3 separate regions of the Homo sapiens genome follow, and regions 1 and 3 are each linked to region 2. The links are contacts of gene promoters, found by promoter capture Hi-C in human tissues and cell types (Jung and others, 2019). All regions are on one chromosome and are shown on one strand. Each heading gives the region's core, a stretch centred on a gene start or on the middle of the fragment in contact. The rest is flanking DNA. Distances are from core to core; before and after follow the strand shown. Region 1 overlaps TMC2 (transmembrane channel like 2). Region 2 holds the start of TMC2 (transmembrane channel like 2). Region 3 overlaps TMC2 (transmembrane channel like 2).

What was found. The method cuts DNA at HindIII sites, captures the fragments that hold promoters and counts their contacts. A contact is called where the count stands out against the background at its distance.
Region 1: a fragment that was not itself captured here is called in contact with the fragment with the promoter of TMC2 in region 2 in 1 of the 25 tissues and cell types used here (small bowel).
Region 3: a contact is called between a fragment that was not itself captured here and the fragment with the promoter of TMC2 in region 2, in 4 of the 25 tissues and cell types used here (H1 embryonic stem cells, pancreas, psoas muscle and 1 more).

Annotation. Positions count from the first base shown.
Region 1 is chr20:2,578,619-2,583,267 of GRCh38, forward strand. It overlaps TMC2 (transmembrane channel like 2), which reads left to right. Exons shown (of 20, transcript NM_080751.3): 6 at 528-609; 7 at 1,332-1,438. Among named protein-coding and RNA genes, the nearest start is that of TMC2, 44 kb to the left of the region's middle. The HindIII fragment of the contact is 3,260 bases long and covers 510-3,769 here.
Region 2 is chr20:2,534,003-2,538,225 of GRCh38, forward strand. TMC2 (transmembrane channel like 2) reads left to right here and starts at 2,571. Exons shown (of 20, transcript NM_080751.3): 1 at 2,571-2,653; 2 at 3,267-3,314. The coding sequence starts at 2,620. It overlaps LOC105372504 (a long non-coding RNA gene), which reads right to left. Exons shown (of 3, transcript XR_937204.3): 3 at 526-608. The HindIII fragment of the contact is 10,824 bases long and covers 1-4,223 here.
Region 3 is chr20:2,596,604-2,600,936 of GRCh38, forward strand. It overlaps TMC2 (transmembrane channel like 2), which reads left to right. Exons shown (of 20, transcript NM_080751.3): 10 at 548-695. Among named protein-coding and RNA genes, the nearest start is that of NOP56, 54 kb to the right of the region's middle. The HindIII fragment of the contact is 6,794 bases long and covers 1-4,333 here.

The DNA of each region.
Region 1 (4,649 bases), core at 890-3,389, 44 kb after region 2:
GCTGTTGTTCCCCCAGGAGAAGAATGTTCAGCTATGGGTTGAGATCTCCTTATCAGTTGCACCACCCCTGCAATTTTGCGACAGTTCCTATCAGAGAGAGGCACTTGGCTGTCTGCCAGACGTGGGTCTGAGAGTAGCCAGAGTTCCTTCTACCTTTGAATTTTTGTTTTAAGTTGAAGAAAGTCATATCAGAGGTTGCTAACTCAATCGGACCCTCCAAATCAGAAATCGTACAGAGAATTTCTCACTTTATCTACAAACTGTCCAAACCAGAAATTTTATCAGCACAGTAAGGGGTGGCCCTCACTTGTCTCTCACTCCAGGCCTGACGTTGGGGAAGTAAAGGTTTGAACACCTGCCTCTGGCAGCCTGGGCTCAAGGACAGCAGGAGCTGGGGACTGCAAGACAGCAGCTTCACCCATGCTGACTCATGCTGACCTGTCGGCCTCCTCGTGCCCCTCATCATGCCCCTTTGTGCTCCAGGTTGACATGTTAAGGAACTGAGAGTTTTACGTCTTTTATTTCAGAAATGGGTCAAATTTAAGAGAGACTTTGATAATTTCAAGACTCAATGTATCCCCTGGGAAATGAAGATCAAGGACATTGAAAGTGAGTATGCTGGTGTCACTGTTTTTTTAATTGGTTTCCTAAAGCGTTTCCCAAGAGCTTGGATTGTTTCCTTGGCCCTCTGAATAGATTATTTCATTGGTTCTGTTGTATTAGGAAAAAAGAATGAGTTTTGAACTTGTCAGGCCAAGATTTATTTTTTATTTATTTATTTATTTATTTATTTATTTATTTATTTATTTTTATTTATTTTTGAGACAGAGTCTCGCTCTGTTGCCCAGGCTGGAGTGCAGTGGTGTGATCTTGGCTCACTGCAACCTTCACCTCCTAGGTTCAAGCGATTCTTCTGTCTCAACCTCCTGAGTAGCTGGGATTACAGGTCTGGGCCACCACACCTGGCTAATTTTTTTGTATATTTAATAGAGACAGGGTTTCATCATGTTGGCCAGGCTGGTCTCGAACTCCTGACCTCAAGTGATCCACCCACCTTAGCCTCCCAAAGTGCTGGGATTACAGACGTGAGCCACCGCACTCATCCCAGACCAAGATTTAAATTCTGCTTTTTCACTTTCTGACTGTGGGCACTTAGGCAAGTTAGTTAACCCCAAAGAGCCTCAGGTTATTTATCCAGGAAAAGAAAGGGAGATCCAGGTGTCATTCAACAGACTGATGTGAAAATTGAATCCACCACACACATAAAGTGCTCAATAGTGTCCATTTTTTCCTTCTGCAGCACTCATACCCACCGTCTTTTCTCTCTCTAGGTCACTTTGGTTCTTCAGTGGCATCGTATTTCATCTTTCTCCGATGGATGTATGGAGTTAACCTTGTCCTTTTTGGCTTAATATTTGGTCTAGTCATAATCCCAGAGGTAAGAAAAGAACTTCCTAAATCTTTGGATAGAGTTAAGGCTTATGACCACCGTCATCAATTATCAACCAAATACTTCCTGTTTTACAAAGAATCAGTCATTCATTTAAAATGCTATTAGGCTGGTGCAAAAGTAATTGTTTTGCATTAAAAGTAATTTTAATTTTTTGCCATTAAAAGTAATTTATAAATTACTGCCATGAAAAGTAAATTTATAAAATTAAAAGTAATGGCAAAAACTACAATTACTTTTGCACCAACCTACGACCTAATGTACTCACATCAATTACCCAGATAGTTAAATACAAAGAATGGAACCAAAATACTTTGTTCCTTAATTAGTAGGTGAATCTTACATTTTTCTACTTCTCATTTTACCTTAAGATCAGTGGAGAATTAATGTTTCAATGAGTTTTTTTCTTTTACTCTCAGAAAAAAGAGAGGGATAGAATACATTATATCATTATTTATCACCAAAAAAACTTGGATTTGACTATCACTCCTCACTATTCTCCCATATATAATTTTTAAGGAGGTTTTTTTTAGAAACAGGGTCTCACTCTGTTGCCCAGGTTGGAGGGCAGTGATGTGATCGTGGTTCAGTGCAGCCTTGAACTCCTGGGCTCAAGTAGCTCTCCCACCTCAGCCTCCCAAAGTGTTGGGATTACAGGCATAACCCACCATACCTGGCCCCAGATATAATCTTATTATGGACATAAATAGATTCTTATCTACAGATGATTAATTGAGAAACAAAAAAGGGGTAATGAGCAATTTGTGCAAAGTCACACAATAAGATCATTGTGAATTGGATCTCAGGTCCCCAGAGTGATGGCTTAGGGTCTTTTCCAAGGAGCCTGTGGCTCACTAAGCACTGAGCACAGCAATTGCTACAATTGCTACAGTCCTGACTGAAATCCTTGATGCTGGTGCTGGGTACACAAGTGGGTCTACTTCAACAGCTTTCAGAGGAACAGTATGTGTGCATTTAGTATTTTCTTCCTCACAGGTGTATTAATTGGTTCTTTGATGACTTACTGACTCCTATTTTGTTATAAATGGTTCTGTGAGCATATTGGAGTCAATTCTATCTGCAGTTACATTTTCTGCACAGCCACTTTCAGGACATTAAAAACCTTTCACATAATGTGAATTAAATCAGATTTATTGGAGGAGGTTGACCATGCATTATAATAGCCTTTGGTAGCAAAGGAGTGTTACATTATTCATAAAATTGTTGAATTCTTTTCTATATTACTCAAAATGTGTGCTTACAAATATGTCATTAACTAGCCTTTGTACTCTTTCATAAACACACCTAGAAATCAAGGGTTCTGAGTCCACTGAGCCCTACATATATTCTTATGCCAATATCACTCTCTGACCCAGAAGTTAGCATTTTAAACGTCACTGTCAAGCGTACACAAACACTCTTACACCAAGTCTGGTTCTCCCCAGGGGGAAAATATTGTCAAAAGCTAATAGGAAGTCTCATTTATCTCCTCCATAGTCAGGTAAATATGAAATGTTTTCCTCGGTAGTCAATGGGGAAATTTACCTTCACAAAGCTCTTGGCTTTCTTCTTGGAAGCTTTTATTCCATGAGAAGAGAGCACATTTAAATGCCACAGGCCTATGAGACATCTCTGAAATTTTGCTGTGCAGTGGTCCATAAAAGGCAGGTTTGGGGGAAGTTGAGCAATTTTAAGGACACTCGGTTGCTTTTTAAAAGAGAACATTAAATTTGGTATAATTTATGTAAGTTTTTAATATTTTTATGAGGGAACATTTATTTTAAACAATAAAAACTTAGTGATTGGTGCATTCCAATGAAGCAGCCAAGATCTGAACCATTCGTGCTAGAGAACCTTGATTTGATTGGCAGGTGATTGGGAAAACCATACTGGAGTGGGTTGAGAGTAAGAGAGAGAGAGAGATGCTTTGCTGGAAAGAGGAGCCTTGGCTTGGGAAGAAGGAGAAGGGAAGAAGGGAAATAGGGGAGAAGGGAAGAGGCTTAGACCAGGTAGCAGCCTGTTGCAGTAGGTCAGTGCTAGATCCGGGTAATATCAATGGGAATGGATTAAAAGAGAGGAATCAGAGTGAAGTGCACGGACAAGTCTTGATGACAGGTTGGATAACAGCAATTAGGGTGTGGGGTGTCTCAAGATGCCTTCTTATTTAGGATGATGGGAAATTGGCCATATGGGAATCAGACACATCCAAATTCATTGCACATCTAAAGGAAGTGTCCTGTTGGTCAAAGACACAGAGAACTTCAGGGCTCAAGGGTTTTCAGCATAAGCTAAGGTTCAGAGATATCCCCACGACCCATGGATGTTTTAAAATGAAGCATAGTGAACCAGAGGGTCCAGGGATAAGAATAGTAGAAGTGCTCAAACATGACTTTTTAAAAAAATTATTTATATATATATAGAGAGAGAGACAGAGCCTCATTCTATCTCCTGGGTTGGAGTGCAGTGGCACAGTCTTGGCTCGCTGCAGCCTCCACCTCCTGGGTTCCAGCAATTCTCGTGCCTCAGCCTCCCAAGTAGCTGGGATTACAGGCACGCACCACCAGACCCGGCTAGTTTTTGTATTTTTAGTAGAGATGGGGTTTCGCCATGTTGGCCAGGCTGGTCTCAAACTCCTGACCTTAAGCGATCTGCTCGCCTCAGCCTCCCAAAGTGTTGGGATTACAGGCATGAGCCACCATCCCTGGCCTTGAACGCAACTTTAACGAAACTTCTCCTTATATTCATTTTCCTTTTGCCACAAACTCTCAATACCACTTTATGAAATTAAACAGCTCTGAATGTAAGAATGAGCCTTGTTTATCTTTAATTGCCATTGCCTGCACAACCCAGGATGTCTACGTGATCCCTGAGGAACCCTCAGTTATGCTGCAGGAGCTGGCTGGCAAGGCCCCACTGGATGACAAGTTTATGTACTTCTCTTCCAACACTGGATGTATGTGAAAATCACCTGGGGGACTTTAAGAACACCAGATCTTAGGCTCACCCCCAGTCAAATAAATTTGACTCTGAGGGTATGGTCTTGTTATCTCTGTTTTAAAAGCTTCTGTGGAAAGCAGATTTCTATGATAACCTCCAATGATCCTTCTCTCCTGGTATTCATGTCCTTATGTAACGCCTCCCTTTGAATATAGGCTAGACCTAGAGACTTGCTTTTAACAAATAGAATATAGAATGGTTA
Region 2 (4,223 bases), core at 1,321-3,820:
AGCAGGGTTTGTTGTGAGAGAGAAGAAATCTGCCAATTCCTAGATCACTCCTTCAGACACCAAGGGCTAAACCCAGCCACCAGACAGCAAAAACACATCAGCCCCTGAGGACAAGGGTCTCTGTTTCATTTGCTGATGAATCCCCAGAGCCGAGAACTGACTCTGACCCCAGTGGGTGCTCATTTTTATCTGTGAGGAGAAAAGTGGAGTTATCGACTGTGTGGACAGTCAGGTACAAGGGAATTTGATAGTCCTATCTGGAGGGAATTTCTCTCCGGAGATGAAGGTGTTGTAGAAAGCCTTTCTCCTCTGGCAACAGAGAACAACAAGAGCAGGGTAAAGGCAGGAGGCGGAGCTTGCAGTGAGCCGAGATCGCGCCACTGCACTCCAGCCTGGGCGACAGAGCCAGACGCTGTCTCAAAAAAAAAAAAAAAAAAAAAAAAGAGCAGGGTAAAGGGCTGCTGGGGGTCCTCACTCATCAGGGGAGAGCGCTTGGGGCACCCCCAGCAGAAACCTTACTCACCAGTCCTCTGGGCCACGCTGTCCTGTGGCTGCACAGCTGCCCGTGCTGCTTCTCACATGGACCGGGGTCCTGCACTGGCATGGCCCTGGTGGGGAGAGGGATTTGCGGCTGCAGTCCTGCAGTATGGATGCCAGAGAATGCAACTGAGATCCTCCCACTGCCCTCATGCCCCGGGGACTGGGGCGGCCCTGCAGGAACCAGTTGGGTCGGAGATCAAGGTGTGGGACAAAGAGAAAAGCTTCAAAGCTTGAGATGAACCGTTGCACGTGCATTTTAGAGGTAGCTCCTTTGCCCCTTCCCTCGCCAAGCTTGCATGAGGACAGGCACTCCTACTCCTGACCCCTGAGAAAGTACATGGGCATGATCAGAGGCTAGGTCTGTCCTTGACACCCACAGGAGACTTGCCCTGGGGAAGGCTTTTTATTCTGTTGTGTCATAGAATCCTTTGGCATCCTGGTAAGGTCCGTAGACCCCTTTTTATATTTTTTTTTATTTTTGAGACAGAGTCTCACTCTATCACCCAGGGAGTGCAGTGGTGCAATCTCAGCTCACTGCAACCTCCACCTCCTGGGTCAAGCAATTCTGCCTCAGCCTCCTGAGTAGCTGGGACTACAGACACATCCCACCACGCCCGGCTAATTTTTGCATTTTTAGTAGAGATGGGGTTTCACCATGTTGGCCAGACTGGTCCGGAACTCCCAACCCTAGGTGATCCGTCTGCCTTGGCCTCCCAAAATTCTGGGATTACAGGCGTGAACCACCACGCCCAGCCACAGACCGCTTTTCAGAACATAGACATTAAATCCATAAAATAAAACACTAGGATTACAAAGGAGACCAATGATCCTGAAATAGGCATCAAAATCACTTTAAATATCTTTCATATAATGACAATATATGCTTCCTAATTAAATAACAAGATTTCATGGCAGGTCTCTAACTATCATAATTTTGAAGTTGTGATAACATGTAAGATATTTTGAGACATCCCCAGTGGTTTAATTGGGAAAAAAAATAACTGTGACTTTTGCTGAGACAAAAATCACATCTTTGCTTACATTCATGATTGAGGGAAATGCTAAATCGCAGTTAAGGCTAGGAAAAGTGAAAGTGTAGTATTTTCTCCATCACTATTCACAAACCCACAGAATTCCATCCACAGCTCTGGGGGTTCCAGGGACTCCAGATTAAGAACTCCACACTCTGAGACCTTATGACTGCCTTCCAGAGGGTCCCTCTGACACTTTAGTGATGGTTTTCAAAGCAGCCAAATCTGTGCCTCCCTGAAGCCAGGGAGGAAAAGCTGCTGAGGGAGGGGGCGGGGGCTGAGCGGGAACATTCATCTGTGTGGGCTCAGGACGCCTGCAGCAGGATCCACAGTGCAGGCTCCCAGGGCCTGGCACAGACTGACTGATTCCAACGCCCAGTGCCACTCCTGGGAGTATGCATTTTATTTTTAAAAATTTATTATTATTATTTTTCTTTTTGTGGAGATGGGGTCTCACTACGTTGCACAGGCTGGTCTTGAGCTCTTGGGCTCAAGCAATCCTCCTGCCTCTGCCTTCCTAAGTGCTGAGATTACAGGTGTGAACCACCACATGCCAGAATCTGCATTTTAAACAGAAGCCCAAGTAATAACTTAAACAAACATTCTAGAATTTCCCTGGTGCTTTGTCCCAATCAGGGACTCAAGATAGTGGGAGAGGGCCTGGGATGCTCCTCACACCTCCTCTGGCTAGAGTGCCAGCGGCATCATTGCCAGGAGATAAGCCTGCAGCTCCTGGCCCCTCCAGGGCCCCTCATGTATAACTGATGCCTGAAACATGAGGCCATGCTGCCTCTTTGCAGGGAAACCTGAGAAGAGGAGTGTGTGGCCGGATTGATGGGCCGGGAACTCGTCGCCTTCCTTCACCCGTCTCTCTCCCCCAAACTTCACCCACCTCCACATTCAATCTCAAACCAAGAAGCCCCGCCTGCTGTCAGGTCTAGGAAGGGAGGCCAGCCACCATGAGGGCAGGAAAGCAGCCCAGGCTGAAGGCGTGCATACAGGAGCACGCTGCGTGAGCCTGTGCAGGACCCCAGCAGTGCTGCTGACCATGAGCCACCAGGTAAAGGGCCTGAAAGAGGAAGGTGAGTCCACGTCCTGATCCTGCGGGGCCCGCCCACAGGGTTCCTGGGCAGCAGCAGGGGATGGGGGAAGCACATATGGTGTTCAGAGGCATAGGGAGGAGCTGGGTTTGAGTCCAGGGCCTGTCCCCTGTGCGCTGAGCGACCTCGGCTGGTTATTCAACCTCTCTGATCCTCACGCATGAGATGGGGGTAGTCATCACCTCCTTGCAGGGCTACTGGAAGGATTCAAGACAACCTGTGCACAGCACCTGTGTTCAGGCCAGCACTGGAGACTGTCACGGCCGATGCATGCTCCTCAGAGCCTGCTGGGGCGTCTCAGCCACCTATTGTCTCGGTTAGGGTTGCCTGTTCCGAGCAAGCCCCTCAGCAGATTTCTATCTGTCTCTGTCTCTGTGCAGGGCAGGGGGTGGGGGATGTTCTGACCTCATGACTGACAGTATCAGACAAATGTGACAGGCAGGGGACTCTATAATTTGCTGAGTAAAATCATTGGAGCTGGGTCCCAGTTTGAGGCAGCCACAAATCAGCTGAGGGGTCCCACAGTGACCGGGGGTCTGCAGGGAGGGGGACTCACCAGAGGCCAGCCATTTGTCAGCAATCCTGTCTCTTACAGCACGAGGCGGAGTGAAAGGGCGGGTGAAGAGCGGCTCTCCACACACAGGTGAGATGGGGTGGTGGGGTCTCTGGGGAGCCTGCAGTGCCTGGGTGCCCTCTGCTTAGCCCAACAGTCCAGCCACCCATCCAACATTCTCCTTCATCTCCTTCCCTCTCATTCAACACCCTGCATGGAGCCTTCCTGGGAGGCAAGGTGTTTAACATGGGAGGGGGCAGAGTACCACTCAGAGAAGGTGCTGCTCAGCCCTCGGTGTCAGGGGAGACTCCCAGGGTTAGTGACACTCTGAGCTGAGCCTTGGGAAGCAGTGAACATTCACCAGACAGAGGGCAGGGAAGCTCGGTGCAGGCTTCTGGCGGGTGGTGTGGCCAGATTCACATCCAGGCCCCCGGACTCTAGGAGGAACACTCTTAACCTCCAAAAAGTAGTAGGCATAATGGGTGCTCCATCACCTTCCCACTGGGAATGTGACCACAGCTCTCCCGTGAGCCGGTGAGGGAGCCAACTTGCTCCAGGAGAAGTGGGAGAGCCCAAGGAAGCCATAGGCGGGAGAGAAAACCCTTGGTTGAGACTGAGGGTTCAGGGGAGAGGGGCAGAAGCCACACTCACAGGCTGGGCATCTTCATGTCACAAAATATTATGGATGCGATGCTGTTTTCTCCCCCTTCACGTCCCAGGCAGGGCTGGGTCCTGCGCCCCACACTAGTAGGCAAGAAACCAGAATCTTGGGGAGTGATGGGGTTCTGGGGGGTTGGAAGAGATCTCCTTCCTCCCCCATTCTGGGAGGGAGGGCCCTTTCCACTCCCTCCTGTGGGAGGGCCCTGTCCTGGCCCCACTCTGGCCAGTAGGGAGCTGGCCCCAGGAGCCACTTCATCTGCCCTTTCCGCTCCTGTGACCCGCTGCTGTCTGGTTGTCGGGAGCCTGAGCTTCAGTGAGGCCGCTGTGTTACAAGGGGAG
Region 3 (4,333 bases), core at 1,649-4,148, 63 kb after region 2:
GCCTGGACGACAGAGCGAGACTCTGTTACCAAAAAAAAAAAAAAAAAGTAGCACAACAAAGTAGCACCAGCCACCTCAGTGTGTTTTGCATTTTATATCAGAAAAAAATATATATGTGTGTGTGTGTGTGTGTGTGTGTGTATGTGTGTGTGTGTTCTATCCAAGAAAATAGATGACTTAGAAGGGGACGTTCCTGTTTGAGAATAGACTCCCGTATAGAGTTCTCAAACTGCATTTGCAGATGAGTCAAGCCACAGGAAATCGGGTGTAGGGAAGAAAACATGGTCACGTGTCTTGTCTCCTGCAGGCTTTTTATTACCTCATTGATACCATGTGTGCTTTCAGGGGACTCTGAATTTGGGGGGAAGGGTGTCCTGGCTATCCTCAAAGCTGTCTTGGCTCAAGTCCCTGCCTGGCTTGTTTTGTCACTGAATGTCAGCTACCTGTTTATCTGTTACCTGTGTCCGAGACTGGCTAGGCCAAGGTTCCCTGGGGGTGACACAGCAGAAAGAGGGCAGACGTCACAACAGTGCTGTGTGCCCTACAGGATGGCCAGCAATACCCAAGGAAGCACAGGCGAAGGGGAGAGTGACAACTTCACATTCAGCTTCAAGATGTTCACCAGCTGGGACTACCTGATCGGGAATTCAGAGACAGCTGATAACAAATATGCATCCATCACCACCAGCTTCAAGGTAGTCACCCCAGGGCAGTTCCCACTTCCGGAGAACTCTAGGTCCCTCTGGTCATTGAGAGACTTCTCCCAGCTGGGACATAGAAAATAAGGTCCTCAAATAATTTGTGGCAAGAGCCTTCCCAGAAATGTGAGCCCAGTTTTCAAACCCTTAAGTAAGAATGTTCGTGGCTGGTGCCCACTGTCTGTTTCTTTTCTTTTCTTTTTGAGACAGCATCTCTCTCCCATTGCCCAGGCTGGAGTGCAGTGGTGTGCTCTCAGCACACTACAACCTCTGCCTCCTGGGCTCAAGCGATCCTCCTGCCTCAGCCTCCCGAGTAGCTGGGACTACAGGTGCCTGCCACTATGCCCAGCTAATTTTTTTTTTTTTTTGTATTTTTAGTAGAGATGGGGTTTTACCATGTTGGTCAGGCTGGTCTTGAACTGCTGACCTCAAGTGATCTGCCCTCCTGCACCTCCCAAAGTGCTGGGATTACAGACATGAGCCACCACGCCCAGCCTGTCTGTTTCTTAATATGACAGAGTATCCTGGATGCTGAGACCTGGTGCTGCCTGTTTCTACGTGAAACACATTTCTGCTGGAATAAGTGGAAGGACTCATTTGGGGAAAGCATTTCTCAACTTTTTCTGCATACTAGAATCACCTGAGGAGCTTAAAAGATCTCCTGGGATCCACTAACAGAGACTCTGATATAACTGGCCTGGAGTAGGGTCCTGACATTGGTTTTTCAAAAGCTCCCCAAGTGATTAGAATACTCAGAAAGAGCTGAGAACCCTGGTTTGGGGCTGTGGGAATAAAGAAATCAACACTGATGGCTGCGCCAAAATCTCAGAAATCACCACTGAAGAACTTATTCATGTAACCAAACACCACCTGTTCCCCAGAAAGCTAGTGAAATGAAAAAAAAAAAAAAGAATTTGAACTTGGTAGTTGGAAAATAACAAAGAGAGAGAAAGGGAGACAGAGTGAAAGCTTGGTGACAGAAGGCTAGCAATATGGTCTGTGCAGATCAGTCCCACAGGGGCTGAGGTGGGCAAACCTTTGCACGTGTGTAGGATTCTGACTGAGAGGGTTCCTTCACAGACCTTGCCTCTACTTTATTTATTTATTTATTTATTTATTTATTTATTTATTGAGACAGAGTGTCGCTCTGTCACCCAGGGTGGAGTGTAGTGGCAAAATCTCAGCTCACTGCAACCTCCGGCTCCTGGGTTCAAGTGATTCTCCTGCTTCAGCCTCTTGAGTAGCTGGGATTACAGGTGCACATCACCATGCCCGGCTAATTTTTTTGTATTTTTAGTAGAGACATGGTTTCACCAGGCCAGTCTCAAACTCCTGACCTCAAGTGATCTGCCCGCCTCGGCCTCCCAAAGTGCTGGGATTACAAGCATGAGCCACTGTGCCCAGCCCATGTCTCTACTTTAAAATCACCATTTATTTTCTAAACAAGAGTTTTTTTCATGTGAAGTGCTGCTGACAAAGTTTCCATCATTTTCCAGTGAGACTGGGTGTTGTTTATTTATGTGACTGGTATAAAAACAGGCATGGGGGGTTCTGAAAACAAAACAAAACAAATCAAAACACAGTTCCATGAGATAAAAAAAGAGACAGAAAGTTTCCTGTGTGTACATGTCCAAAAAAAAGGTACAACAAAGCAGAAAAACCCTTCTGAGGGTGCATAATAAACAAAGGACTATTTTAGGGTTCTAAGTTGCAGTTGGAGTGTATGTATAATTGAGTGGTTGGGTTTGCATATTTAAAAAATAAAAAGTATTTTTAGTAGAGATGGGGTTTCACCATTTTGGCCAGGCTGATCTTGAACTCCTGACCTCAAATGATCCACCTGCCAATCCCAGCTACTCGGGAGGCTGAGGCAGGAGAATCTCTTGAATCCAAAAGACAGAAGTTGCGGAGAGCCAAGATCGCACCACGGCATTCCAGCCTGAGTGACAGAGTGAGACTCTGGCTCAAAATGAATGAATGAATGGGATAATGTTAAAAAAAAAAAAAAAAAAAAGATGAAATCAACCCTATGTTTCTTTCAATCCACACACAAATAATTTCTTTACAAGAGAGGTTTGAGGAGGTCTACAGAACTATAGCTCATATAAAATAACCATCCAGCTGGGAAGCAAATGAATGAAGGCCAAAGCTGTAATGCTGAAGCATTGTACATTGTACTTTGCCCCCGTGATTGTAAAAACCATTCCAAGTTCTTCGTTTTTTTTTTCTTTAATTACATTTTTTTTTTTTTTTTTTTTTTTGGAGACAAGGTCTCACTCTGGCTGGAGTGCCATGCCCAGTTAAATTTTTCTATTTTTTGTAGAGATGAAGTCTCTCACTATGTTGCCCAGGCTGGTCTCAAATTCCTGGCCTCAAGCCATCCTCCCTCCCTGGCCTCCCAAAGCACTGGGATTACAGGTGTGAGCCACTGCACCCAGCTCCCATTCCAAGTTCTTTATGGCTCAATATTTCTCCTGTCTGATCAGTGAAGCTTTCTTTCCCCCAGGACCTAGCAAAGCTCACATTACACTACAACTGCGCTTCGTTCTCTTTTCTTTGCCCCTCCCCTCTCTTGAATTCCTTCCTGCTGTCCACTGACTGATGCCTGCAGATGGCAGGGACACCCACTAGGAAAAGGGCTTGAGCTCAGCAACTCACAGCATGGGTTTCCCAGCCCTAGAGCCCGGTGGGCTTTGCAGTGCATGGAGCAGGGAGCTGACTCTGTCTCCTCTCCTTCTCCTTCTTACAGCAATGGGGGGCTTATGGCCACTTCCATCCAAAGCCAGGGTAGGGGTGACTGGGGGCTTTGACTTTTCCTCCAGGATTGTGAGAGAGGGACAAAGAAGATCAATGTCTTTGAAACACTTTGAACATGTGAGAAGTAAAATGACTTCTTTTGTAAGTTTATTAAAAGAGACATAATATACTTGTATAACAGAATAGATGTGAAAATTCTGTGAATTAAGACTTTGGGGTCTGGGAGAGCTCATTTTTCATCCTGGTTCTACCAATTACTCTGTGTCTAGGGCACAAGTTTAATAATCAAAAATCAATTTTTATATACTAACAGAAAACAATTCGAAAATAAGTTTAAGGCCAGGCACAGTGGCTCATGCCTGTAATCCCAGCACTTTGGGAGGCTGAGACAGGTGGATCACCTGAGGTCAGGAGTTTGAGATCAGCCTGGACAACATGGGGAAACCCTGCCTCTACTAAAGATACAAAAATTAGCCGGGTGTGGCTGGGTGTGGTGGCTCACGCCTGTAATCCCAGAACTTTGGGACGCTGAGGCGGGCAGATCACGAGGTCAAGAGATCGAGACCATCCTGGCTAATACAGTGAAACCCTGTCTCTACTAAAAATACAAAAAAAATTAGCCGGGCATGGTGGCGGGTGCCTGTAGTTCCAGCTACTTGGGAGGCTGAGGCAGGAGAATGGCGTGAACCTGGGAGGCGGAGCTTGCAGTGAGCCGAGATTGTGCCACTGCACTCCAGGCTGGGTGACAGAGCAAGACTCGGTCTCAAAAAAAAAAAAATTTAGCCGGGTGTGGTGGTGGGCACCTGTAATCCCAGCTACTCAGGAGGCTGAGGCAGGAGAATCACTTGAACTTAGGAGGCGGAGGTTGCAGTGAGCCG